Linked DNA regions of Homo sapiens: region 2 is linked to region 1. Evidence: promoter capture Hi-C in human tissues and cell types (Jung and others, 2019). All regions are on one chromosome and are shown on one strand. Each heading gives the region's core, a stretch centred on a gene start or on the middle of the fragment in contact. The rest is flanking DNA. Distances are from core to core; before and after follow the strand shown.

The links. Contacts are between HindIII fragments. The study calls those that stand out against the background at their distance.
Region 2: a contact is called between a fragment that was not itself captured here and the fragment with the promoter of EXO1 in region 1, in 2 of the 25 tissues and cell types used here (adrenal gland and mesendoderm cells).

What each region holds. Positions count from the first base shown.
Region 1 is chr1:241,844,319-241,850,831 of GRCh38, forward strand. It overlaps EXO1 (exonuclease 1), which reads left to right and starts at 3,886. Exons shown (of 16, transcript NM_130398.4): 1 at 3,886-4,035; 2 at 4,413-4,709; 3 at 4,794-4,898; 4 at 6,091-6,268. The coding sequence starts at 6,108. RefSeq lists an enhancer at 3,582-3,921. The HindIII fragment of the contact is 7,563 bases long and covers 1-6,513 here.
Region 2 is chr1:241,585,482-241,591,940 of GRCh38, forward strand. It overlaps KMO (kynurenine 3-monooxygenase), which reads left to right. Exons shown (of 15, transcript NM_003679.5): 11 at 1,198-1,255; 12 at 3,267-3,349; 13 at 4,531-4,632; 14 at 4,723-4,782. Among named protein-coding and RNA genes, the nearest start is that of CHML, 52 kb to the right of the region's middle. The HindIII fragment of the contact is 6,440 bases long and covers 1,343-6,459 here.

The DNA of each region.
Region 1 (6,513 bases), core at 2,636-5,135:
GATGAATCTCACAAACATGATGTTGAGTAAAAGAGGCCAAATGCTAAAGGATAAAAACTGCATCATTTCTTTTATATACATTTCACAAACGAGGCAACACTTGCAGTAAAAAGGCAGATTAGTAGTTAGGACAGAGATATCTGATTGGAAACGAGCTACGAAGTGTCTTCTGGGAGGGACCAAGTAGAAGCAATATATGTTCATTTTGTGATAATTTGCTTAGGATTTATGCTTTCTGTATGTATGTTTTACATATATAATATAATGTAATAGTAATACAATATTACTATTTATAATAGTAAATGGAGGAATTTGAGACAGGAAGTACAGGATTTTTTTTTTCAAAAAGTTTTACGATAACAGGAGCAGAGAAATGAGGGGAATACTGAAGGGTTATTTTAAAGATGGAAGAAATGACTGTTACGGAAAGCTCACTTACTCATATTTACCATTGCTGCAAAACACCTGTTCTATTGTTTACTTAATCGATTTTCAACTTAAATTTACTTAAAAAGCAAGTTTCATGTTAACACTGTGTCACTTGCCATAATAGAAATAACCGTAAAAATACAATGGACACAAAGTCATTCGATTAAAATAATTTAAAAATGTAAAAATAATTGAATGCAATCAAAATCAATCAAATTGAGCTGCAAAAATGAGCGCCTAAAAATAAGTTACTTAAACAGAAAACCAGAGCCGTTGATGATCAGTCAGAAGAAAAAGGATATTCTGTTCCATATATATGTAATAGTCACCAGCACTGTGCACAATTCCTTCATCTTCACCTTTACACTGCATACATACTGTTTTGAACACCTATCCACATTCATTTTAACAGAGGAGCAAAATAAAAACCTAGTCCCATATGAGGTGACAAGACGATGCTGACTTGCCCAACACTTGAGGTTGTCCCTTGTTCCCATGTCTCTGATTTGGAGGGAAGTTGAGCTTTAGAAAAAGCTTCCTAATGCTGCTGACTAAAAAGAACCCCCACTCCTATGTCTCTTCTTAGAAATTACTGGTGTATGCATCAGTGTGTGTGTGTGTGTGTGTGTGTGTGTGTGTGTGCATGTGTGTGTGTGGTGGGGAAGGTGCTGCTCAGCTGTGGTTCTAGCAACCCTGCCTGAAACCAGGCAAAGGCAGGAGGCCATCTAGAGGGCACCCACAACTCTCACTAGGCCCCAAGTCATTGGCTAAGTTCCACACTGTAGAAAACACTGCCCTATAACAATGGAGACAGTATCTTCCAAATTAAAAATCAGGCAACCTGATATTTCAACAAGATACAGTATTTAAAGATAAGAGCTGGCCGGGCACGGTGGCTCACGCCTGTAATCCCAGCACTCTGGGAGGCTGAGGCGGGCGGATCACCTGAGGTTGGGAGTTCGAGACCAGCCTGACCAACATGGAGAAACCCCGTCTCTACTTAAAATACAAAATTAGCCAGGCGTGGTGGCGCATGCCTGTAATCCCAGCTACTTGGGAGGCTGAGGCAGGAGAATCGCTTGAACCCAGGAGGCAGAGGTTGCAGTGAGCCGAGATCGCACCATTGCACTCCAGCCTGGGCAACAGGAGCGAAACTCTGTCTTAAAAAAAAATAAAAATAAAAATAAAAAATAAAAAAATAAAGATAAGAGCAGCCCAGAAAACCCATAATAATAGTGCCATACCTAGGACATTCATGTATTAGTCCACACATTTGAAATGTTTAAAATCAACACTAGTGCTACTGGGATGTGAAAATTCATAGACATAATCCCTGCCCTCAAAGTAAGGTTGCCAGATAAAATTACAGAATGCCAAGATAAATTTAAATTTCAGATAAACAGGGATTTCTTTTAGTATATGTCTCAAATATTGCATTAGATATATTAAAAATTTATCTGTTGTTCATCTGAAATTCAAATTTCTGGGTGTCCTACGTTATTATTTGCTAAATCTGGCAACCCTACCTCAAAAGGTTTTCAGTCTATTGAAGGGCAAAGACAATTCAAACACAATGAGAATATGAGAAGTGTCAGGACCAAAGAGCCATCACAGAATGCTTGTGCATATCAAACAAATATCTAACTTAGGGAAGACATTTGGAAACTGGTAACATTGGAACTGAGTCTTAAGCTGGAAACATATGGGATATACCATTTATTTCAGCATTTAATAACATGCCATCATGATTTGTGACTTAACTGTCTCATAAACATGTGTTTTGTCTACAGAACTAGATCTTAAGTTCCTTGAAGACACAGGACATCTCTTTATGCCTCCATGCCACCTGGAACTGACAGGCACACTTAAGGCAGTAGTAAATTACTGCACACATTGATGCAAATGGTTTTGTCCTCCCAAAGAGTAAAAATATTCTGTTAGTGAAATGTATTGTAACTAGTGTTTTCTTTTCCAATTTTAGTCTTTGAACACTGCAGCCAAGAATACAGTTTGAAACCTTGGGAGTCAAATTCACAGTAAATACATGAGCCGTTCACAGTGCAGCAAACTCTCATGTTAGTTTTATGACAGATCCAGTGACACTGGAATGGACACCTTTTTGATTTTGGGGTTCCTTCCTAAGACCCCCATGTGTGATATATTCATGGTTGGATTCTAGGTACTGAAGCAGTTACTACAGCTGGATAGTCCAATGAGTGTAAGAAGGCTTCTCTACAAACACATGCTGCCCACATCGAAGTTCCTCTTTAATCTACTGCAGTTTGAAATTGTCCCCCACTTTCTCCAAGAGTCCACTCCAAGCTAGTTTAGGGTTAGGTCTACCATAGCCTTTGGAAGAGGGAGGGAAGATAACTTTTCTCATCTCTCCTAGTCCCAGCTCTAAAGACCAGAACCAGGGAGAAAGCAACACAGCTTTTCCAAACACATTCCCCAAATGTGGCACCTTTTCAACAATTTTAGTAACAAATTTAAGGCATCATAGATGCCTTTAAAATTGGCATGATAGATGTTAGAGTGATCATAAAAAGACTTTAAAAGAGGAAAAGATGTAAAGAACGTAATCAAATGGGGAGCATGTTTAACAATGTGCTCACTTCTTCCCCTTCAATTCCTTGAATTGAGTCTGCATTATCATTCCTATTGATCTTTGAGCCCAGAACATTACTTTGTGGTCTGGCCTAAGGTTTCTTCCAATTTTTTAAATTACAATATCCCTAAGAGGACAGCGACGAGGTCTGGGGTGTTATGAGGATTGGAAACCTAGCCACAAGTGACCATGAAAGTCCAAAATGCCTCTAAAGTCTTTGTCTCTAAGGCCCATTTTCAAGGTCTTGTTATATAGCTAATTTTTCCCCGACTTATGTCAAAAATAAACGAAGCTGGGTTCTAGGTAAAATGGTAGGGGCAGATTTTAATCACTACTACTACTGCAATGGGGAAAAGAACCCAGCGTGAACTGAATTCAATTTCGATTTGTAGAGGCAACCGGGCGTTTTAAAGAGAATGAAGGAATTAGGATGGGACTGATGACGCCGAGGGGGACTGAGCAACTTTTTCAGGTTTGAAAAGCCTCAACATCAACGCGCGACGGCGCTCTTTCAACATCAGCCTCCAGAACTGGGGCTGCAGCCAGGAGGGAACTACAACGCCCAGCAGCCCCGGCGGGTGTAAACACTCCCAACTTCCGAGGCGGTGCTCACCATCGGCCATCAGCGCCAGTGCCACTCGCGCCCTCAAGAAGCCGCACGGAGTTCGGGCCGGCAGCAGCGGCTGCAGTCGTATGGCAGTGAGCCGCTGTCTACCCAGCGAGACGGAGAGCTCAGGACGCAACCCTATGAGTTGGAAGCCGCAGGAGGCGGAACCGGGTTGCGGGATACGCGTTGACGTCACATCCTCTGGGCGGGGCCGCAAGGAACCCGCGCAAATTGAAAGGTCAGCCTTTCGCGCGCTGTGTAGGCAAGTTACCCGTGTTCTGCGTTGCCGGCCGTGGGTGCTCTGGCCACAGTGAGTTAGGGGCGTCGGAGCGGGTTTCTCCAACCGCAATCGGCTCCGCTCAAGGGGAGGAGGAGAGTCCCTTCTCGGAAGGTGAGAGGAGCGGGCTGTGCGGAGGCTAATGGGTGGGTTCCCTTGGGGGTCGACCTGCGCGTCACCTCCGACCCTCCTCTCGGGATTCGGGTCTTCCAGGAAGGGAAGGAGAGGGTCTGGCGTGATCTTCCCAACCCAACAGCGGAGCCCTTAGCCTGAGTGGAGTATGTGTTTTGTTCCGAGGGGACGTCTGGCAACCAGAGGTCTGCAGTTCAGTGAACGGAGGGAGATAAGAGAGCAGACGATTCCGGGCTGGAGCAGGCGCCAGGGTTGCCAGACTTACCTCATTTTTCCGCAGAAGCTGGCAGTCCAGGTTTTACATGCAATCTCTCCACCTTTAAATGTTGACAAGTACATTTTCCCATAATATTTTGCAGGCCTAAGGAAACGTGTCGTCTGGAATGGGCTTGGGGGCCACGCCTGCACATCTCCGCGAGACAGAGGGATAAAGTGAAGATGGTGCTGTTATTGTTACCTCGAGTGCCACATGCGACCTCTGAGATATGTACACAGTCATTCTTACTATCGCACTCAGCCATTCTTACTACGCTAAAGAAGAAATAATTATTCGAGGATATTTGCCTGGCCCAGAAGAAACTTATGTAAATTTCATGAACTATTATATCCGTTTTCCTCGGAGTGAGAGAAAACTCTTTTTAGATATCATCTGAGAGGTAAGAGACTGTTTTTCTGAAACTGTGGCTTGAGGACCACCTGCATCCAGATTAACTGCTTTGTTTAAAATTCATTCACAGCAGAACTAGTGAATCCCAGTCACTGAGTGGAGTTGAGAGTCTAAGAACCTCTGAAATTTGAGAACTGCTGGACCAGAGCCTTTAGAGCTCTGATAAGGTGTCAACAGGGTAAAGCTGCCTCCTGATCCTGTACTTTCTTTCTTCCTTTCCTTCCAAACTTAACGTTTGATAGGAGAGATTTGTATTATGAAATGCTAAGCAACTGCTCAGTGCCCATTACTGACTTTTTATTGTAGAGTGGGGGGAGGTCGTTTCATCAGAAAGGGTTGTGACAGTTCCAGAATCTCTGTATAGAAAGGGCTTAGGGGGCTGCAACCGGAATGGAAGGGGGTGGAAAGTTAAAGCATTTGTCTTGAAGCTGTATTTGCATAGCAGACGCAGTTTCACAGTTCTTTAGGGTAGCTTTCAGAGAGGCTGATGGAGTTGCCCCTGGGCGCCACCACTGTTTATTACCAGAATGTTCGTGCTTAGAATAATGCGTTCTAATAGCAGTGAATTTCAGTCCTAAAAAAGTACAGGATCATTTCTGTAATTCTTTTTGAATTTTTCCTTTGTTTTTTAATTGAAATACTTACCTTCCTACAAACTGTTTTGAGTTTCTACTCCTATTTGAATTTGCACGTTGACCCTTATGATTAATGCCCTTTGTAGAGGCAATGCGATGCCATCGCATGCATGGTTTTGTTTGTGCCTGGCTCCTTGAAGCATGTGTCAGGAGTGAAAGTGCAAAAGCACTTTGGAAAGACTAAACAAACAATAAGCAACAGTCAAGTGGCATTAGAGGTAGTATTAGTGATTAATGTAAATTCTACCCTATGGAAATTGTTTGATAGGGAGGAGCCCAGCTAAAATATTAAAGAGCAGTGATTCTTGAATATCTGAACAATTTCTGGCCGGGCGCGGTGGCTCACGCCTGTAATCCCAGCACTTTGGGAGGCCGAGGCGGGCGGATCACGAGTTCAGGAGATCGAGACCATCCTGGCTAACATGGTGAAACCCCGTCTCTACTAAAAATACAAAAAATTAGCCGGGCGCGGTGGCGGGCGCCTGTAGTCCCAGCTACTGGGAAGGCTGAGGCAGGAGAATGGCGTGAACCCGGGAGGCGGAGCTTGCAGTGAGCCGATATAGGCCACTGCAGTCCCTCCTGGGCGAAAGAGCGAGACTCCGTCTCAAAAAAAAAAAAAAACAACAAACCAATTTCTGCATTGGACTCCAAGCTTTCTCTTCATTTGTCTAAGATGTTTTAATAAATGTATTTTTCTTTAAATATTACTGTTCTCCCTGTCTCTTTTCATATCAGGTAGTTAATTTGGCACCATGGGGATACAGGGATTGCTACAATTTATCAAAGAAGCTTCAGAACCCATCCATGTGAGGAAGTATAAAGGGCAGGTAGTAGCTGTGGATACATATTGCTGGCTTCACAAAGGAGCTATTGCTTGTGCTGAAAAACTAGCCAAAGGTGAACCTACTGATAGGTAAGTCTGGACCTTATGTTAATTCTTTGACAATTAAGAATGAGACCTACAGTGCCTTTTTTTCTCCCCCAGAAACGGATTGTTTTCACTCAATGCCAGAACTTATCAGGAAGTAAAAGTTGTATGTTTTAGAATATTCCCAAATCAGGGATGACTTCCTTCTGTGATAATAGGCCTAGTTTTCTTTCTTTATAATAAGCCAGAGTATCAAGACACTGATGGACAAAGACTATTAATATCTCCTT
Region 2 (6,459 bases), core at 3,313-5,812, 260 kb before region 1:
GCACAGTGGCTCACGCTTGTAATCCCAGCACTTTGGGAGGCCAAGCCAGGCAGATCACTTGAGGTCAAGAGTTTGAGACCAGTCTGGCCAATGTGGTGAAATGCCATCTCTATAAAAATACAAAAATTAGCTGGGCGTGGTGGTGCACGCCTGTAATCCTGGCTACTTGGGAGGCTGAGGAAGGAGAATCATTTGAACCTAACAGGTGGAGATTGAAGTGAGCCGAGATTGTGCTGCACTCCAACCTGAACAACAGAGCAAGACTCCATCTAAAATAAAAAAAAAAGAACAAAAAAAAAAACCAAAAAGAAAAAAAATCTTTATACTACCTCTAAAGCTGTAGCTTGAATTCCTAGGAAACAGGAAACATTGTTTTCAATTCTCCATCCTCTCTGTATTTAGTATAGTACATTACTAATTTTGTGGACTTCTTAATATTGCTTTAATCTTGAGTTATAGGAACTAAATTAATAAGTAGTTTTATCCTATCATTAAATTGCTCTAAATATGAATCTTAAAGACTTGAATGAGTTTAAATATAATTCTAAAACTTATGGTAGAGCAATATAATGATTTCTTCTTCTCAAAGAAGTAATGGAATCTATCAAAATTAAAACAGTAATGTAAAATCTTGGTCGAATTTCAGATCACTGTATCATATATATGTAAATTGGACAAAGATAACACTGCCAAGCATGAAGTCTATGGTCTTTTTTTTTTTTTTTTTTTTTTTTTGAGACAGGGTCTCGCTCTGTCACCCAGGCTGGAGTGCAGTGGAGCGATCTCGGCTCACTGCAACCTCCATCTCCCAGGTTCAAGTGGTCCTCTCACCTCAGCCTCCCGAGTAGCTGGGACCACAGGCACACACCACCACATCCAGCTATTATTTTGTATTTTTAGTAGATATGGGGTCTCATCATGTTGCCCAGGCTGATCTCAAACTCCTGAGCTCAAGCGATCCGCTCACCTCGGCCTCCCAAAGTGCTGGGATTACAGGTGTGAGCCATCACGTCCAGGCCCGATGGTCATTTTTAACCATAATTCAATACCATGTGACAACTCAACTGCTATGTACTAGTTGAGAATAAACAGTGTATGAATTATCTTCACCAATGGAATATCTATTCAAAATCAATAATAAGGGTTTCTTTTTTATTATTTCTAGTTTCTTATTTCTCTTTTTTTTTCTTGTTTCAGGGCTTTGAAGACTGCTTGGTATTTGATGAGTTAATGGATAAATTCAGTAACGACCTTAGTAAGTAAGGTCAATTTCTCAACTGGACATGTACTAGCTCTTCTGACTAATTGTGGGCTTATTTCTGATCCTCAATGATCACAAACCTGTGATGTATAATGTATATTATCTCCCCAGGATTACATATTTTTCTACTAATAGTCTATGCCACCGTTTTCCCATAGCAACAACTAACACCCAGAAAAAGAAACATAGTTTCTTTTGAAGTTTCTATGTGGAGGTCCATGAAGTGATTCACTCAGAGATTAAAGCTCAGAGTACCCGTGCTTGGCAGAAATAGGCTGCTTTCTCTCCCTTTTCAGCCTAGGTAACACCCTCTGCCTGCGCCTCCTAGCAACAGTCCCAACGTTTTGGCACCAGGGACGGGTTTCACGGAAGACAGTGTTTCCACAGACAGGGGGTGGGGGGAGATGGTTTCAGGATGAAACTGTTCCTGCTCTGATCTTCAGGCGTTAGTTGGATTCTCATAAGGAGCGTGCAAGCTAGATGTCTCGCCTGTGCAGTTCACAATAGGGTTCACGCTCCTATGAGAAACTAATGCCACTGCTGATCTGACAGGAGGCGGAGCTTGGGCGGTAATGCCATCTCAACTGCCACTCACATCCTGCTGTGCGGCCCAGTTCCTAACAGGCCATGGACCGAGGGTTGGGGACAGTCACCCTACAACACATCCTCAGAAACACTTAGAAGCTCCAGTGTTTTTTGCCCTATCAAAGATTGCATCTAATACTTTTTTTTTTGAGATGGAGTCACTCCATCGCCCAGGCTGAAGTTCAGTGGCCTCAGTCTTGGCTCACTGCAACCTCCGCCTCCTCTCCTGCCTCAGCCTCCAGAGTAGCTGGGATTACAGGCATACACCACCACACCCAGCTAATTTTTGTATTTTTAGTAGAGACGGGGTTTCGTCATGTTGGCCAGGCTGGTCTCGAACTCCTGACCTCAAGTGATCCACCCACCTCTGCCTCCCAAAGTGCTGGGATTATAGGCGTGAGCCACCATGCCCGGCATAAATTCCTTTTTTTTTTTTCATTATTTTTCAGTTATCTCTGTCAAATACTGAGGAGCCAGAGGCATTTTGTTCCCGCCCTTCCTTCCTAGTCCTGATGTGATTGGTTTGCACATGACCATGGAGGTGGATGGAGGGTTTGTATATTACATATATAAAAGAAGGCACAAACAACAGCCTAAGAACTGGATAACCTTTTCCTACTTCCCAGCATCACGTGCTTTCAAAGGCCACCTCTGATTTTACACTTGTTTCAGGTAAAGGATAGACTAGAGAACTGGCCTTAAACTTACACCCAGTTTCAAGTCCTGACTTGCCAACTTATTAACTGTGTGATCTTGAGCAAATCACTTCATCTTTCTAAAGCCTCCGTTCTTTTTCATCTATAAAGTGGGGATGATACTCTCAACTTCAGAGTTGTGAACACTGAATAATTTCTATAAAGTTTTAAAAAGAAAAAAAAAGCCTACCGTAAAGTAAGTTCATAGTATATGTTTGCTGTGGTGTTTTAGAAAGTCCAAGAATACTGGTGCCTGGGTCTGAAGAGATCATAGAATTCCAGGACAAATTTTCTCATCTTTTTTTTCTTTTTTTTTTTTTTTTTTTTTTTTGGTTATTTCCCAGTCATCTCTCTCAGATGCTCAGGAGCCAGAGATATTTTGTTTCCTCCTTTCCTTGTGCTCGCGTGACTGGTTTACACATGACGTTGGAGGTTGATAGAGGGTTTATGCATAAGAACACACTGTCAACGCTGGTTTGGGGCACTAGAGAACAAAGATAAAGCAATAATATAGATTAATTTTGTTGTAATTTTTATTTAATCACAACAGGAAATGCTCTGTGTATTGTCAATAGTCATAGATTGTTGGTTATACAGAATGGTTATTTATAGTTTAAAAAAATTAGCGAGAGCATTGGTAGTGAACGTACCATTTAATTTGACCTGTGTAGAGTTCAGCACATTTTTATAGAAGGTTTTGGAAAGATGTATTATTTAACTTACAGGTTTGTGTCTTCCTGTGTTCTCAAGATTGAGAATCCCAGATGATCACGCGATTTCAGACCTATCCATGTACAATTACATAGAGGTGAGTGAGAAGGTTTGGCTTTATTCCATGAGATGGTTCACTGATATTCTAACAAGTGTTCTTTTCTTTTTCTTTGCTTCAGCCCCCATCTCATGCATGCTATATAAGAATACCTACAGATAAGAAAACACACACACACATAGCATTCCTTAGACTTGGGTGGATTGTGACTCTGGCCAGTGGCAATGACCAATACACATTATCTCTATCTACACTTTAAGGACGTTTAGGAGGTAACAAAACCTCTGATAATTCACATGCTTTTATCTTAGACATTTAGCAATATGTTACTTTAATGAAAATACAACTTTCAGATGTGTCAACATATTTAGAAAATCTAAGAAATGTTGAATGGCCTTTTCACTCATAACATTATAACTTGCATATTTAGAGTAGCATTGATTATCCTTTGGAAACTTATGCACTAAAAAAAAATGCATAATACCAAAAAGAAATTCATGTTCAGGAAGATTAGTACTTTGAAAAAAAAACATATTAATTCCATTTTGAACCAGTCACATGTAAAGCTCATGGTAAGTGATTGTGATTATAGTTTTAAAATAATAAAATGAAAGGATTTACAAGATAAATTTAAAGCAGAGTGACCAGCTATTTGCCATCTCTCCTGAAGACAGAAAGAAACTGGACTTCAGCTTGAGCAAAATTGCATCAGATGTGGTAGAGGATAACCTACAAGATATTGTAGGCTTTATTGATGTATCTTGTCTTCTCCTTTAAAAACGGGATGGCTACGACACAGTATCTGTCCTAAAAGAAAGAGTAGGTCCAGACAAACATAGCTTTAAACAATCTCTTTTTGCCGTAAGCAATATTACAAAACAACCAGGAAGCAACAGAAAATTAGACAAATCTTTGAGCTCACAGATTGCCTGCAGTTCTGGTTAAACAAACCCTCTGCTGAAATTGACTTCCTCTATTGAACCCTGAGCAAAATAAACTTCCCTAGCAGGTTTCGTGTAATTGCTGTACATTTTCGAGGCAACGTCCTATATGACCGACATTTACCAAAATGGATTGGGAATGACATTATGGAAACAAAAAATTATTTGACTACTTTGTGTTTGGCATTGCGATGAGTGGGAATGAAGAATAATACTAAGTCGCAGTGAGAAATAGCTGTATTTGTTCAAAAGCGTTCTTTAAGACTGTCATTATTGCAGATGCGAGCACATGTCAACTCAAGCTGGTTCATTTTTCAGAAGAACATGGAGAGATTTCTTCATGCGATTATGCCATCGACCTTTATCCCTCTCTATACAATGGTAAGGTCTGGACTGAAGACTTTTCCTCATTTTGATTTTCTGTTTAGCTGTTAAAGAATACACAAGAATACTTTTTAAACTTCCCTGCAGGTCACTTTTTCCAGAATAAGATACCATGAGGCTGTGCAGCGTTGGCATTGGCAAAAAAAGGTTGGAACAGTTACATTTTATTTATTTTTTAATGTGGTGTTTTGAAATGTCATAGTATTATGATTATGTTTGTTTCCAACAAATACAGAAATAATGGGACAGACACCAACTGTTTGCCTTCCAAACAGAAACTGTCCTGAGTACAGAGAGGGAACAGTGCTTACTGAAAAACATTACAAGGAGGTGGCAAAGAGAGCTTTTGAAGGGAAGAATCTCAAGATAGAAACTGATGCTAATATTTCTCAACTTTTTACTTTATTTTAGCAAGATGTACTGTTCTTGATTTTTGCTTCATGCAATATTCTTATGAGTTTAATTTGTAAAATTAGACAGAACTGAATCACTTTTAAAAGATCTATTCCAATGGAATGCTATAATACATCCATTTTGGGCAGTTGGCCTAGAGAAGCCATTAAATGGAAGGAATTCTGATTCCCTAGTCTTCCACTTTGGGGATTTTACAACGTCATTTATTCAACAGACAGTTTTATTTGGTACATAGATAGCACTGAGCTGGCATGGTGATGAACATGACCAGTTCACACCTTTCACAAAGCTCAGAGGCTAGTAGGGGATACAGACAGTGGCACTGGAGAGAGATAAACTGCCCCCGAGGAGAACAGGAGGGGCCAGGACAGGGGAAGGCGGAAGACACATGAGAAACATATTTCAGTGGAGCTGGAAGGCAGCACAGTGTGTGAGAATGGTCAGAGGGTGGAGGCGGGGCTTTAAACACCTGGAGTATTATCTTGAGAGAAACAGGGAGCCCAGGGAGGCCAGCAGACTCAGGTATGGATTTTAGAAAGATGTCTATATGGAGAATGGATTGGAAGAAATCAAGGTTTATCTGTGCAAGATGAATAAAACAGGGCCCCCACCCTTAAGGAGCTGAAAGTCTAAAAGGGGAAAAGATACCAGCAGGCAGTTAGAATGCAGGACAGTAAGTGCGGGGATAGAAATAGGCCAGGCAAATCCTTCAAGGAGGGATAAAAGTCAATCTTCAAACATTAACTTAAGCAGACCAAAAATTCTGATGACCACATCTAGATTATTTTTTATAAAAATGATTTTCACTATAGCTATGTTAGTTATGCTAAGCTACTGTCCAATCTCTTGTGATGTGTAACTTTTACATGTGAGTATTCAAGTAGATTTCTCTGTCAAAAAAAAAAAAAGAAAAGAAATAGGCCAGGATGCCATGGGAAAGCACCTGACTCAGGCTGGAATGAGCCTCAGGCCACTGTTTACAGCTGGTGTTTAGTCTCCACATAAGTCTTAGTCACAGAGGCCACCAGGCCACCACTCTTCTCCTGGAGACTTTTGGGAAGCTTCTGAGAAGGAATGAATGATGTGTGGCCCCAGCACAGCAGTACTCTTCTAAGAATTCACAGCTCTTTTTCTAAACTGCAAAGGTTTTTTAATGGCTGGACAAAAGCTGACTGCTAAATTTTTTTCATACAGAAGACCTGGATTCATGAGTTTCCTGGGAGAGAGGGAGAAGGGAGGCTCCCAATCCTTGACTTTATCTTGATCTTATCAGTTCCTGATCTGGTGGTCATGCAAGTAAATTGTTGTTTCAGGTTAAAGAACAAAGAGGACATTGTTTACCCCTTTGTTGTTAAAAAATGAAGTCTATTTTCAGATTTTAATCTCTGGACAAATGAAATGAGAGTTCTT